Regions from separate parts of the Homo sapiens genome. Here regions 2 and 3 are each linked to region 1. Evidence: promoter capture Hi-C in human tissues and cell types (Jung and others, 2019). All regions are on one chromosome and are shown on one strand. Each heading gives the region's core, a stretch centred on a gene start or on the middle of the fragment in contact. The rest is flanking DNA. Distances are from core to core; before and after follow the strand shown.

Evidence for each region. The method cuts DNA at HindIII sites, captures the fragments that hold promoters and counts their contacts. A contact is called where the count stands out against the background at its distance.
Region 2: a contact is called between a fragment that was not itself captured here and the fragment with the promoter of MANSC1 in region 1, in 1 of the 25 tissues and cell types used here (hippocampus).
Region 3: a fragment that was not itself captured here is called in contact with the fragment with the promoter of MANSC1 in region 1 in 1 of the 25 tissues and cell types used here (hippocampus).

Annotation. Positions count from the first base shown.
Region 1 is chr12:12,348,419-12,352,910 of GRCh38, forward strand. It overlaps MANSC1 (MANSC domain containing 1), which reads right to left and starts at 1,824. Exons shown (of 4, transcript NM_018050.4): 1 at 1,660-1,824. RefSeq lists a silencer at 1,825-2,134. The HindIII fragment of the contact is 3,549 bases long and covers 1-3,518 here.
Region 2 is chr12:12,123,361-12,127,852 of GRCh38, forward strand. LRP6 (LDL receptor related protein 6) reads right to left here. Exons shown (of 23, transcript NM_002336.3): 20 at 3,331-3,561; 21 at 1,936-2,072; 22 at 1,205-1,302. Among named protein-coding and RNA genes, the nearest start is that of MIR1244-4, 14 kb to the left of the region's middle. The HindIII fragment of the contact is 3,485 bases long and covers 786-4,270 here.
Region 3 is chr12:12,493,582-12,498,073 of GRCh38, forward strand. All of the region lies in intron 4 of DUSP16 (dual specificity phosphatase 16), which reads right to left. Among named protein-coding and RNA genes, the nearest start is that of DUSP16, 67 kb to the right of the region's middle. The HindIII fragment of the contact is 4,009 bases long and covers 1-3,985 here.

The DNA.
Region 1 (4,492 bases), core at 574-3,073:
TAACTGCATATTCCTAAGTCAAAGAAGCCAGTCTGAACAGATATGAATCTAACTGTATGACGTTCTAAAAAAGGCAAACTACAGCGGCAGTAAGAAGGCCAGTGGTCACCAGGAGAACAGGAGTGGGAGGATGAATCGGTGGAGTGCAAGGGATATTTGGGGCATTGAGACTATTCTGTATAACACTGTAATGGAGGATACATGTTATTGAACATCTGTCAAAACCCATAGAAATGTAAAACACACAGAGTGAACATTATGTGAACTATGGACTTTTAGTTTTAAAAAAAGGTAAAACCAAAAAAAAAAAAAAACCCAGAAACAAACCAGTATATGGTAATAAAACACAAGTCTAATACTTTTCTTGCTGTTTGTCAAAATTCTGTATACAGTAAAATAGTAACATTTATTGCGTCTAAAATGCCAGTTTCTATGCTAAGCACTTTATATATATCATGTCATTTAATCTTTACAGATCCCATTATTATCCTCATTTTAGTTAAAACTTACAAAAAGTTGTGGGACATAATATGTGCTTCTTTATTAACCTATTAAGTAACAAGTGGTCATCTAATAACTGCCATAATTTTGACGTGGTATTGAGTATAGATAATATTTTGAAACGTGCAACAAGTCATGTGATATAAAGATATCGGCAATATTTACAGGGGGCAAATCATAGCTACTGCTAATACTACTGTGGCTTTTGCCTACATTCCATTTCAGAAGTCGGTGAAATAATAATTTTTTCCACTCAAGTTCACAGACATCCTGAATTCTATCCATGGATACCTTATCGTGGACTCCCCAGGTTAATAATTCTGGCCAAGGTACTTAATACGCTGCCATATTTTGCAAGCCTCTAGGGAATCAAGAGAAAACCAGGCCAATACTTTATTTTGAATGGATTCTAATGTAGCCTCTTTTCAAGCTTTTGCAAAGAAACCTGAACTATGTAAGGAGATGGGGCAGGAGTTGTTTTCAGTATGCAGCATTGAGAGAAGTGTTTAAGAGTTTTATATCATTAAAGAGGCTCAGCAATATTAGGTTAGCGACGTTTTCTAATCCATTATTATTTAGGCTTTAAGGGCCTGAAGTCGAGTTGAATCTTGTTGAAAGACGGGGTAAAAGGATACAGGCGGGTGAGAGAGGATGCCCCTGAGTTTTAACGTCTGCATACAAGAGTCGCTAAAACTTACTCGCACGTAATTAGTTCAAATATTGGAAATCGTCTTACAGCACACTATAATTTACCAAGATGCTTATAACTGTATACACACACACACTCTACAGAGAATTAGACAATTAGCAGTTTCAATAATGAATACAGAGTCAACGACAAGAAAACAGGGAACATTTTCTCTTCCTTTGAGGAAATGCATGTTGCCTACTGAGCTATTCTTCTGCCTCTCCTTCTGATGTCAACGCAGAGCCAGAGCCATTTATGGCAGGTGCCTTGAGCCCGCCTAGAGGTCCCCTTTGGAATACTGCAGCGACTCAAGGATCCTGGTCAGCCCTTATTGGCCCCAGCTGGTCCTTTGGATGCTCGGGTGTGGGTGAAGGAGCCTCGGCCCCTGGAAAGGAGGGGACCGACTCTCTCCGCAGGTAGCGACGTCGCCTGCGGCCGGTCGGGGGTGGGTATTGGGGAGACCCCTTTACCTGGCGTCGAGAGGACCCCGGCGCCCCTGCTGCCATCCAGGTGCGAGGACAGCTCTGTCGCGCCCGCGGGAAGGACCGGCGAATCCGCGCGGGGGTCTCGGCGAGGACCGCAGCGGATGCTCCGCAGCTCCCGCACCGGCCTGGCGGGTTTTGTGGTTAGCAAGTTCCTGCTTCCGTCGCAGCGACGGCAAGTTTGCCGCGGGGGAAGGGCACGTTCCTGCCCTGCAACCCGGAGCTGCTTCCCGGCAACATTAGCGCGTCCCTCCCCGCGGAGGCTCCGGGCTCCCGGCCCCAGCGCTGAGCCCCGCAGGGAGGTGGCTCCCCCCACCGCCCCGCGCTCCCCCCCAGCTCAGCCACACCGCTGACCCCGGGCTGGGCGCGCTGCGAGGGGGAGTGCGTGCCTCCCTGCTGGTGGCCCGAGGGTCTGCAGGTGAGCCTTGCCTCGCGGCCCGCGCAAGTTAAAATAAATGCACATGGGGAAAATGTCAAACAGTACAAAAATAGACACAGAGACAAGTCTACCCCTCACCCCCGTGCCCCAGTCTCCTAGTCTCCCTCCTCAGAGGCAACCACTGAGAGCAGTTTTTTGATGTTCAAGGGCTTATAGTGCATCCTATTGGGGGCATAGTTCTGAGAATCCTCTTTCCATAATTGGAGGATGGAGTCCTCAATTAAAGATGGCAATTCTTGAGTTAAATATTATCTGCAAGACAAACTTCAGGGAAGGTATTTGGCTTTCTGCGGGATTTATTGTTTGTAGATAGGATAATAATGGTGAAAATGCTGGTGTCTGTAACATATATTAAAACTGTATCCCTAACACTTAGCATAGTGCCTGGTACACAATAGGTGCTCAGTAAATATTTAACTAAAATATTTTTGTTGACTGAATGAATGGAAAAGAACTGCATAGGGCATAGGTTGTGGAAGTTTCTAAATTACTGCTGGCCCCATCCCCACCTCCATAAACACACACACAAATGCAACGTTACTAAACCATTGACACTTAGTTTGCCATATGGTCTAACCTTTGACAGTATCTTCACCTCTGTTTTGAAAGAGCTTGCAGACCTGAAGCGCTATGCAATTGCAAGTTAAGTCTAGGCCTGTACGGCCAACAGCTACACACCCTAGTCTTAACCAATAACTACAGGAGGATTAGGTTGACTGAGAATGCTTGTGAACAAAGGTCCATTGTGTGAAACTAACTCTACTTGTAACCAAAGGATGACTCTTGAATTACAATGTTGCTAAAGCTAGGTTTGAAAGAGTTACCAAAGAAAAGTAAACACCAGAGTAATTTCCCATTGCAGTGATTTTCCTGATGCAACAAGGGACTGATCTGCAAGTGTGTTTTATCTTTTATCATCTGATACACTTCAGGGTTCAGGGTGTAGAGCTATCACAGTTTTTGAATCTCTCTACATGGGGTAATCCATGCTAGTTACAAAGTAGACCTTTCCATTATTAGAAACTTCGTATTCGGTGCTTTAATACAATGAACCTGTTTCTTTTTTTGTTTTGTTTTGTGTTTTGTTTGTTTTTAGAGACGGAGTCTCGCTGTGTTGCCCAGGCTGGAGTGCAGTGGTGTGATCTCGGCTCACTGCAACCTCCACCTCCCGGGTTATAGCAATTCTTTTGCCTCAGACTCCTGAGTAGCTGGGACTACAGGCACATGCCGCCACGCCCAGCTAATTTTTTTCTATTTTAGTAGAGATGGGGTTTCACCGTGTTGCCCAGGCTGGTCTCGAACTCCTGAGCTCAGGCAATCCGCCCGCCTCGGCGTCCCAAAGTGCTAGGATTACAGGCGTGAGCCACTGTGCCCGGCCTGAACCTGTTTTCATTGAAGTGATATGTTATTTTTTCAGTTATGACAGTGAACAAAGGATATTGATTAAAATAATGATTAAAGAAATATTTTCTATTATATATGTTTAATTTATAAATATCATTGTTTATTTATTCATTTTTTTAGACAGGGTCTCGCTCTGTTGCCCACACTGGAGTGCAATGGCACAATCACGACTCACTGCAGCTTTGACCACCTGGGCTCAAGTGATTCTTTTGCCTCAGTCTCTTGAGTAGCTGGGACCACAAACGCACACCACACCCAGCTAATGTTCTTAATTTTTTTTTTTTTTTTAATTTTGAGATGGAGTCTCGCTCTGTTGCCCAGGCTGGAGTGCAGTGGCACGATCTCAGCTCACTGCAACTTCTGCCTCCCAGGTTCAAGCAATTCTCCTGCTTCAGTCTCCTGAGTAGCTGAGATTACAGGCTCATGCCACCATGCCCAGCTAATTTTTGTATTTTTAGTAGAGTCGGGGTTTCACCATGTTGGTCAGGCTGGTCTTGAACTCCTGACATCAAGTGATCTGCCCACCTTGGCCTCCCAAAGTGCTGGGATTATAGGCGTGACCCACCGTACCCGGTGTTTTAAATTATTTGTATAGATGAGGTCTTGCTACATTGCCCAGGCTAGTCTCAAACTCCTGGGCTCAAGCAATCCTCCTGCTTTGGCCTCCCAAAGTGCTGGGATTACAGGTGTGAGCCACTGCACTTGGCTTACTTAAAAATAAAATAAAAACTTTAATTTCTGGCCTGAGTCATAACTTAGAAATTATATCCATTGTCACTTCATTTCCTGAAGAGATTCTTGACACTCTTCTCTGAGGGTTAGAAGTCCCATCTATGTGGAGAAAGATTTCTTTAAAAGTAATCGGAAAACATGTATTAAGCAGCCAGGCGCAGTGGCTCACGCCTGTAATCCCAGCACTTTGGGAGGCCGAGGCGGGTGGATCACGAGGTCAGGAGATCGAGACCATCCTGGCTAACA
Region 2 (4,492 bases), core at 1,278-3,777, 220 kb before region 1:
CATTAAAACAATCAGTTCACAGCCAAGGCTATTTCAGTCTTATCTAAGCTGAAATGAGAATTCTGAGTGAGATACTTTAAGTGGTTTCCACTTCATTTCTACACATGGGTGAGGTCGTATCAGGCCAATTTGACTGAAATGCTAGGAAAGATAATAGAAGATTATCTAGAGAGGATAGAAGATAGAAAAGATTATCTAGAAGATAACAGGCACTTGAGGGATGCCCATGAACCCTGGGCACTTCAGTGTGTAGATAGAAACTCTCAAGCTACTGATGGTCTGTTGGCCTTTCAAGGAACATAGAAGTGGAAGCTGACACAACAGTACTTGACCTGCTCAACACACTTTATAGACTCATAAATTAGCAAAAAGGAATAATTTTCTCTTTTTTGGCTTACAAATACACTTTATTTATTTCAATCTTTCTTTATTCCATGCAACTACATGAGAAATCTTTCACTCCAAATTGTAATAGCATATGCAAGCAATGGCTGAACTTACATTTCTCTCAACTTTTCTAAAATTCTGTGCTCTGAGTATGTTGCTGTTTTAAACTCTCAATTCTATGAACCAATCTTATCCCAATATTTCATTCTTAGAATATCAAACTATTTTGAAACCAGTCACTTTGGTGGGTAATTCCTCCTTAGAATACTGCCAAAGCCTGAGGCTGTATTTTATTATTATAAAAGCCAGCATTTGTGACTCTCTTAAAAAAAAAAAAAAGTATAGGCCAGGTGTGGTGGCTCACACCTGTAATCCCAGCACTTTGGGAGGCCAAGGCAGGCGGATCACCTGAGATCAGGAGTTCGAGACCAGCCTGGCCAACATGGTGAAACCACGTTTCTACTAAAAATACAAAATTAGCTGGGCGTGGTAGCGCAGGTCTGTAATCCCAGCTATTTGAGAGGCTGAGGCAGGAGAATCGCTTGAACCTGGGAGGCGGAGGTTGCAGTGAGCTGAGATCATGCCATTACACTCCAGCCTGGGCAACAAGAGCGAAATCCATCTCAAAAAATTAAAAAAAAAGTATAACGTCCTGAAAGGAAAGGATTTGTGGTAGAGGCAATGTCAGTACTATCAAGATAAGATGACTAGTCTCTCTCTGGTGACCATCGTCTACTCATTTGGGGCTATATCAGGTCCACAACTGAAACACTTTCAATAAATACTGCACCTTATTTTAGAGAAGGATGTGTATTACCTGTATGACCTATGAGTGGAAGGACTGTTTGAAGAATATCCAAATTCCATAGTGTAATGTGATCGCTCTGTGGCTGGGGATGGTGGAGGGTTCAAAATCTAAAAGAAAAAAATAATTAAAATATTAAAATAACAACATAGAAACTATCAGACTTTCTTTCAACTTTTCTTCCTTCATCTCTATTAGTGTTTCTTTACAATACACTATTAGCACAATTCTTCTTTTCCAAAGAATTGACCTCAAACAGTACTTTGGGACTATGGCTTCCTCATTCCCTAAGACCTCATCATGGCTAAAAAGTGCAAAGTGACAAAAACGAAAATCTGTAACCTAAAAATCATTGGTCAGTACATTTAGGTCCTGGTTATTTAAAATAGTAAGTATTTAGAGAAAAATTATTGATTTAGGAGAAATTCCAGGTGTGCTTCCTCTTTTGGGAAGTCATAAAATGAAGGCCCTAATCCCTCAATAGGTACCATTCAGTAGTTCTACTTTTACTTGAAATGTGAAATTAATGCCCAGTGCTTTCAAGTATTCTGGTTACTACACAGTAACTTAAAAGATTTATAAGCATGGATGGTGGTGTGTGGTAAGTCCTTTGAGCCTTTTATGCCTAAATTTTACATTCAAAAACTACTTTTACATTACTATCACTGATCACCCACATTTAAATGAGTTAAAAAATCTAAGATCTTATGTATGTCGCATTCAAAGGAAAACAGACTACTTACTGCAGGGAAGTAAGTGCCTTTGGTGCTTGAAGAACTACTTGATGATGCTCCTGTAACATGGGCTCGGTCATAGGGGGGTCCACTGCTTCCCCCCATGATACTGAGGGAGCTGATCATTGATTTACCTCGAGACATTCCTAAAATAAAAGGAGGTTAAAAACTGAAGATGAGTATGATATATAAAAATGTATCAAGCAATTTCATTCAACAGTAGGATTACAAATATCAACAGTGAAGTAGTCTGATTTTAAAATAACTTACACTCTTTTCCTATAATTGAAAACATTTAATGGAGAAAGGAAATGAACGTTTTCTAGAAGTCAATGCTTCCATTGAAAGAGCTGGCCTAGAACAAGGCCAAGAATAGCTCCCACCTTCTCCCTCCCCTGGTAGAAGCAGAGCTATTTAAAATAAGGGCTTTTCAACCTCTTGGAGGATTTGAAAGGATTGTAAAGGGTAGAGGTTGTGAGGCAGGGCATATTAAATACCAGACTTGCTCAAAAGAAAACAAAAAAACATTTTTAGGGCACAAACAACATATGAAAGAATATTTTTTCATCTAATGAATATAAATGTTGCTAGAATCAAAACTACCAGTGCTAAAGAAAAAATTCTATTTTTTCCAAGAAGCTTCCCAAATTCCACTAACTGAAAATAGGTATGGCAACAAAGCAACACTACCATTAACAGTTTAAAAACCATGTTTGTCTACTTAAGAGTTACACCCATAGTAAGTTCCTATTTTCAGAGGGTTTTTGCAAGGCACCGCCTTCTCCATATTCATTAAAAGGAAGGCGTCTTTTAACTAAGGGCACCAGAAAACATTAAAAAGAAGGCCAGTTCCCTAGAGCAACACGGCCTACCCAAGCTTAAAACTTCTGGCTACTCAGCTATGCCTAAACTAGCCCTTTGTCCCTTATTAGCACATGAAGTCAGGAGAAAACTTAAGACATATTCTCCCTTCTATCATCCAGCTATTTACAAATCTTTGTTGGCTGAAGGGAATCTTATATAATTTTTGGCCTCCTTTTATTCATGGGCTCCATAGTACTAGAGTTCCCTGGTGGTGAACTTAACCTGTGGTTTACAACTCTTTCACTAAATGACTGGCTGATTCACCTTCCGTAGCATGCATCCAGAATTGCAGTCAGAGAGGCTTAGAGCTTGCATATGTATTTGCTTTATATGCTTTGACAATTTCTACCAAACCATATCTAAGGCCTTCTGTGTAAAGAGAAGGTGCTAATAGTAAAAAAGAACGTTTGTCCTTATAATTGTTTAAACTCAGAGTAATATGGTTTCAGACAGACTCTAGGTAGTATTCTTTTCCACAATGGAAACTGGCAGTCTTGCAGGACCAAAGACTTGATTCTCAATGGATCCATCCTGACTCACCTGGAAGAGATCCTGACAAAGAACTTGGGTGTGGCACATAACCAAGAGGCACAGAAGCTGGTCCATGAACTACATAGTCATTAGTCATAGTTTCCCCATCTCCCTTCATACGTGGACACAACATCCTCTGGCAGATAAAGTATACAGTTCCAGACACAAAAATGGTGACAATTACGCCAATAACAGAACCAACTGTATTGGTGGCCTGTGGTGCTGGTTCTTCAGTCGGATCTACAATGAAGAATGCAGTATGGTTATTTAATAGAAAAACAACTGTATATTCAAAATAGTAATCAAAAGAGGGCTTGCTAATAGGATGTGAAGCTATAAGCCTAATGAAGATAATTCATAAACACTTTTCTTTTTTATGAGTACATACATACCACGCCCTGAAGACATATGAAATAAATGTCATCATTAGGAATCAAAATGAACTACCCTTAAATGAAGACAGAAATAAAACAATAGGTTGGAAAGTGTAATTGTAAACAGATAGAAACAAAGATGGTAAATGAAGTACAGATTTAAACACCATTAAGAAGCTTTAAATAAATAAACAGATAAAATCCATTCTACTTCATTCTATATACCATACAAATGAACAACGGTATTCCAAGATTTCGGGAAAAAATTTATGACCAGAAGGGATAAACCTAGAAAAGTCATCAAATGTTTTACCTGGAATGGTGAAGAAGCCAAAATCAGCTCTGAGCACATGTTAGATTTTAGATTTGAATAGTGACATTTAGGCCTGATGAATGAAAACTGGAAGCTAAAGATAAGCCTCAGCTCTCAAATCCCCTATGCTGCTGGCCTTCAGGCTGTCTAGTTGCCTGAGACCAAGGAACATAAGGTCTTTAATACCTGATTACTGGAGGACTCACAAAGAAAGGCCACATTGCCAGAAGAGGACACCACCCCAGGGATTCACCTTCCCTGGATCCCTGAGCTACCCGTTTAAGAAGCAGAGGGCATCAATATCAGAGGTAGAGGGAAAGTGAGCTTATTGAAATTAGAGCATTACTGTCTCTATTCAGAGGGAAAATTCTTCCATTCTGAACAGTTAAATTTTATCTCACAGTTGCAGATCCTTTAAAAAACTTCCTCCTGCTTCATCTTACCTCAAATCTCCCATCCATATAGCTAAACTCATCCTCTGACA
Region 3 (4,492 bases), core at 731-3,230, 150 kb after region 1:
CTCCTGTTACCTCTCTGACGACACTCTCCCATGCTCACTCTGCTCCAGCCACACTGGCCTCGCTCTTCCTTTAGCATACCACATGTGCTTTGCCTTGGTGGCTTCTTCTGCCTGTACTGCTCTTCCTCCAGATATTCAAATGGCTTACTCTTTGACCTCCTTTGAGTGTTTGTTCAAATGCCTCTATCTCAATTAGGCCACTTTGATCACCCATTTAATTACAACCCACACCTCACAGGTAATCCCCAGCCCTCTTACCCTGTTTTCTTCATAGCACTCATACTGTACTATACTATGTAATTTACCTATTTATTATGCTTCCTATCAAGTTTCTTTCTCCTAGGATGTAAGCTAATGAAAGCAGAGATTATTGTCTCATTTCCTGGTGTACCCCCAGCACCTAGAACACTGTTTGGCACATGGTAGAGGCTCAATAAACATTTGTTGGGCGAATACATGAACGAACCCTTATCCCTGAAGCTGACTAAAATCAGTATCTAGTAACTGGTTTATTAGCATCTTCTAATGAGAAACCTTCATATATGTTCCTTGCACATTTTCATTTTACAAGTCACTGTAAAATATCATTAACTTACATTCATTTCATAATTTAAAAAAGACTGTTTTTCCTGGGTTGAAAATTTTAGATTCTCAAATTCATTAACAGAAGGTTTTCTGAGTAAATTAACAGAAGGTGTGTTTACTTAATGTTTAAGGACATGTACATTTCATACAAGTTGCATGGGTTACAAATTAGGATATAACTATTTATTTTGAAAAATAATCACCAAGGGCTTACTATGCATCAAGGTATTCTGGGGCATAAAAAAGCAAGTGTTCTCACTGAGGGATGAATAGTCTACTAGCAACTGTAAGACAGTTGCACGAATAATGATGATACAAAGAGGTATCCGATGAATATAATGTAGCAGGATAAACAAAATGGCAGTGGAAAACAGGAGTAAAACCAAAGGGAAGGATTCTGAGAAGACTATTTATAATGGGAACTAAAATTGTCAGCTGAAGCTCAGATGGCGGTAGAGGCATTCCAGATGGAGTATAGAAAATGAATGAAGACCAAGGACAGGACAGAAATATCTGGGGTGCACTCACTAGGTGAGTGTGTCCAGACATTGAAAGAGGATGAGCAGAGGAAGAGAACAGGAGAGGTAAGAACTAAAAAGGTGGTATTAGGTCCTGGAAGGTCTTAAATATCAAGCTAAAGAGTTTTACTGCCAAGCTACAGAACTTTATCAAATGCCATACTGAGAAGACTGATCGATTTATTAAAGCAAACTCCTAAAGGATCTCTTCTTGGAAACAATTCATTAGTGGTTAGTGTGGAATCTCAGTGTGGCACGGAATAAAGTAAAGTACATGGGTAACGGCCCCAGAAAAACCAGAGCACAGCCCAGCGCATTACCACTCATCGCCTGGGTGATCTTGGGAAGGTTACCTAACCTCCGGTAGCTTTAATTTCCTCACCTGTAAAATAAGGCTAATGATGTGTATTTTGTAAAGCCAGTATGAGGATAATAAAGTGCCTGACACATAATATAGGGTCCCCTGAAATGTTAGTTCTCTTATTTTATCTTGTTGTAAAAATTGCTTGTAAATTGTATGGTATATGAATTATATCTCAGTAAAGCCATTACAAAAAAAAAAAAAAAAAAAAGCCCATGATGTATATTTTTCACTAATCCAAACTGTCTTTTCTCCTAATTGGTGTTAAGTAGGGAAATTACATTGAATACAGCAGGCGAGGTTCATCTGCAAAGTGAAGACATACTCCCCCTAAGGATTTAAATAGTGATTCTAGTTTCAACACACAGTTGAGTAAACTTTCAAAAATGATTATCTGTAAACCAAGACAAATTTCATTTTATTATTATGATTTCCATTCACAACTTTTCTCCCTTGAAAACTTTCTCTCTCCTAACCCTGAAATAAGCTTTCTCCTGCAGTCAGACTAATTTCTAAATATGAGTTCTATGATCCTTTGATGCAGACTGTGAAGTAGTACAGAGAGAACAGATTAATATATGGCCTTAATGAAACTGCTCTGTTTGGTCAAATTCTCTCTGTTCAGTGAGGCTGAGGACAGAGATCTCATTAAATAACCACAGGCATTTCAATTCTAGATAAAAGAATTGTAATTTTTCTTTCTGAAGTCAATTCCATGACTAATTTTGCATTTGCCCATCCATTTGCCTTCAAAACTGGCCTCAAGTCCTACTTAACTCCATCAAGCCTTCCTCAAACGACAAAACACACTGTATCTACTACTCACCCTAGTAGGCTGCATAGTCTACCCTAAGATGACAATGACAAGTGTCCCTATAAACCAGGAACTGTGCTTGGCATATGCCATTTCATTTGAATGTTACATGAACACCAGGAGGCCGGAGTTATTGTGGCGTGTAGGTAAAGAGACTGAGATGCAGTAACAGCTGAAGTGATATGGCTGGTAAGGTGGAGAACTGGGATGCAAAACTGTCCACCCCTAAAGCTGGCTCTCAACCATCATGCCGTGCTGCTTCCACACTGGGAGGGACACTGTAGTCACCTTGTCATGTCAATTGTTGTTTAATGAATAGGTCTTGTCTAACCAACTTGAACACTGTATGGTGTTCTACATAGAGTGACATCATAGACATTGAAGAAATATTTTATTGATAATTTTGACACGCTTTTGTGTTCCTAGATCATATATTTCCACTGGAAACTCTGAAAGCATTCTTAGCCTATATTGTGTTTAGGCTATTTGTTGCCTAACTCTTCTAAGAAAACAACAGAGAATGTAGCAGTCAGTCTTCCTACTGTGTACCAGGCAGAACAATAAGAAAGCCTAGGAAAACCAATTTTGCATGTTAAGAGGCTGAAATAAGAAGCTATACAAAAAATGTTGACAGCAGATTATTTAAATGGAGAAGGAGCAGGCAGCAGAGCTCCTTTAGAAAAGAAGCTGCAGTGGTTCACCTCAGATACAGTTCTGCTTAATAACTACTCCCAATAGGTAAGTCAGTCATATGCTGCATATATTTAAATGTGAACAAAAGTCTGCATTTGAAATTGTAACTGATAAGAGAGAAAAGCAATCAAGAACTTTTGTCTTTCACAGAGTAACCAGAGATTCTTTCTCAAATCCCACTCATTTCAAATATGAACTAGGCATCAGCAGATGACTTTTATTTAGTACAATAAGCTGCTCCCATTTCAGCTCTAGTACAAAGACTAGAGGATGAAAGAACACACTCTGAGAAACAAAGTACAGTTGTGAGGGAAAAGGAAAATAAAAGTATGTTTTTGGTACCGATGACCTCTTATGGTCTTCTACAAAAGAACCATGTCTTTAAAACATCAGTAAAAATTAATACATGCTGAGACCTAGACTGTCCAATAAGGTAGCAGCCACAAGCCACACATGGCTACTGAGCACCTAAAATGTGACTACTCCAAATTGAGATGTGCTGTAAGTATAAAATACACACCAGATTTTAAAGACTCAGTACAAAAAGAGACTGTAAAATATCTCAGTAATTTTGTATACTGATTGCATGTTGAAATACTATTTTAGATATACTAGGTTAAATATGTTATTTTTAAACATTAAAATTAGTTTTGCCCATTTCTTTACTTTTAAAGGCCACTGGAAAAATTTAAATTATGTATGTGACTTGCATTATATTTCTGTTGGACGGTACTGGTATAGATGATGTTGCAGAAAAAACAGGGAAAGAAATTCTCCATTGTGACTCAATAGACTTAAGATTTCAGTCCTTCGTAACAGCCTGCTATAGAGAATTCCTTTTTCCAGAAGATGGGCATTTTTGGTGTAATATAAGCATGGGACTTAAAATTACAGCAGCCTCGGTTTACATTTGATCTGTGCCACTGACTAGCTCTGAAGTCCATGACATAATCTCGGGTAAGTGACTTAGCTCAGGGCAAATGTATCTCCTAATCCTATTATGAGGGTTAAATGCAATAATATAAAAAGCCCAGCATTTTAAATGGGAAACATTATGATTCTCCCAAGAAAATTTCTGTGACATGCTTCTAACATATTTTGGTGGCACTTCATTTAAAAAAAAAAAAAAGACTAATAGGCCAGGCACGGTGGCTCACGCCTGTAATCCCAGCACTTTGGGAGGCTGAGGCGGGCGGATCACGAGGTCAGGAGATCGAGACCATCCTGGCAAACATGGTGAAACCCCGTCTATATTAAAAATACAAAAATTAGTCAGGCATGGTGGTGCGTGCCTGTAGTCTCAGCTACTCGGGAGGCTGAGGCAGGAGAATTGCTTGAACACGGGAGGGGGAGGTTGCAGTGAGCCGAGATCATGCCACTGCACTCCAGCCTGGTGACAGGGCAAGACTCCATCTCAAAGAAACAAAACAAAACAAAACAAAACAAAACACTAATAATATTAGTGGTCTCATGGTTACTGTTTGTAAAGACTTCAACTTCTGAATTTTAATAAAAAGAACT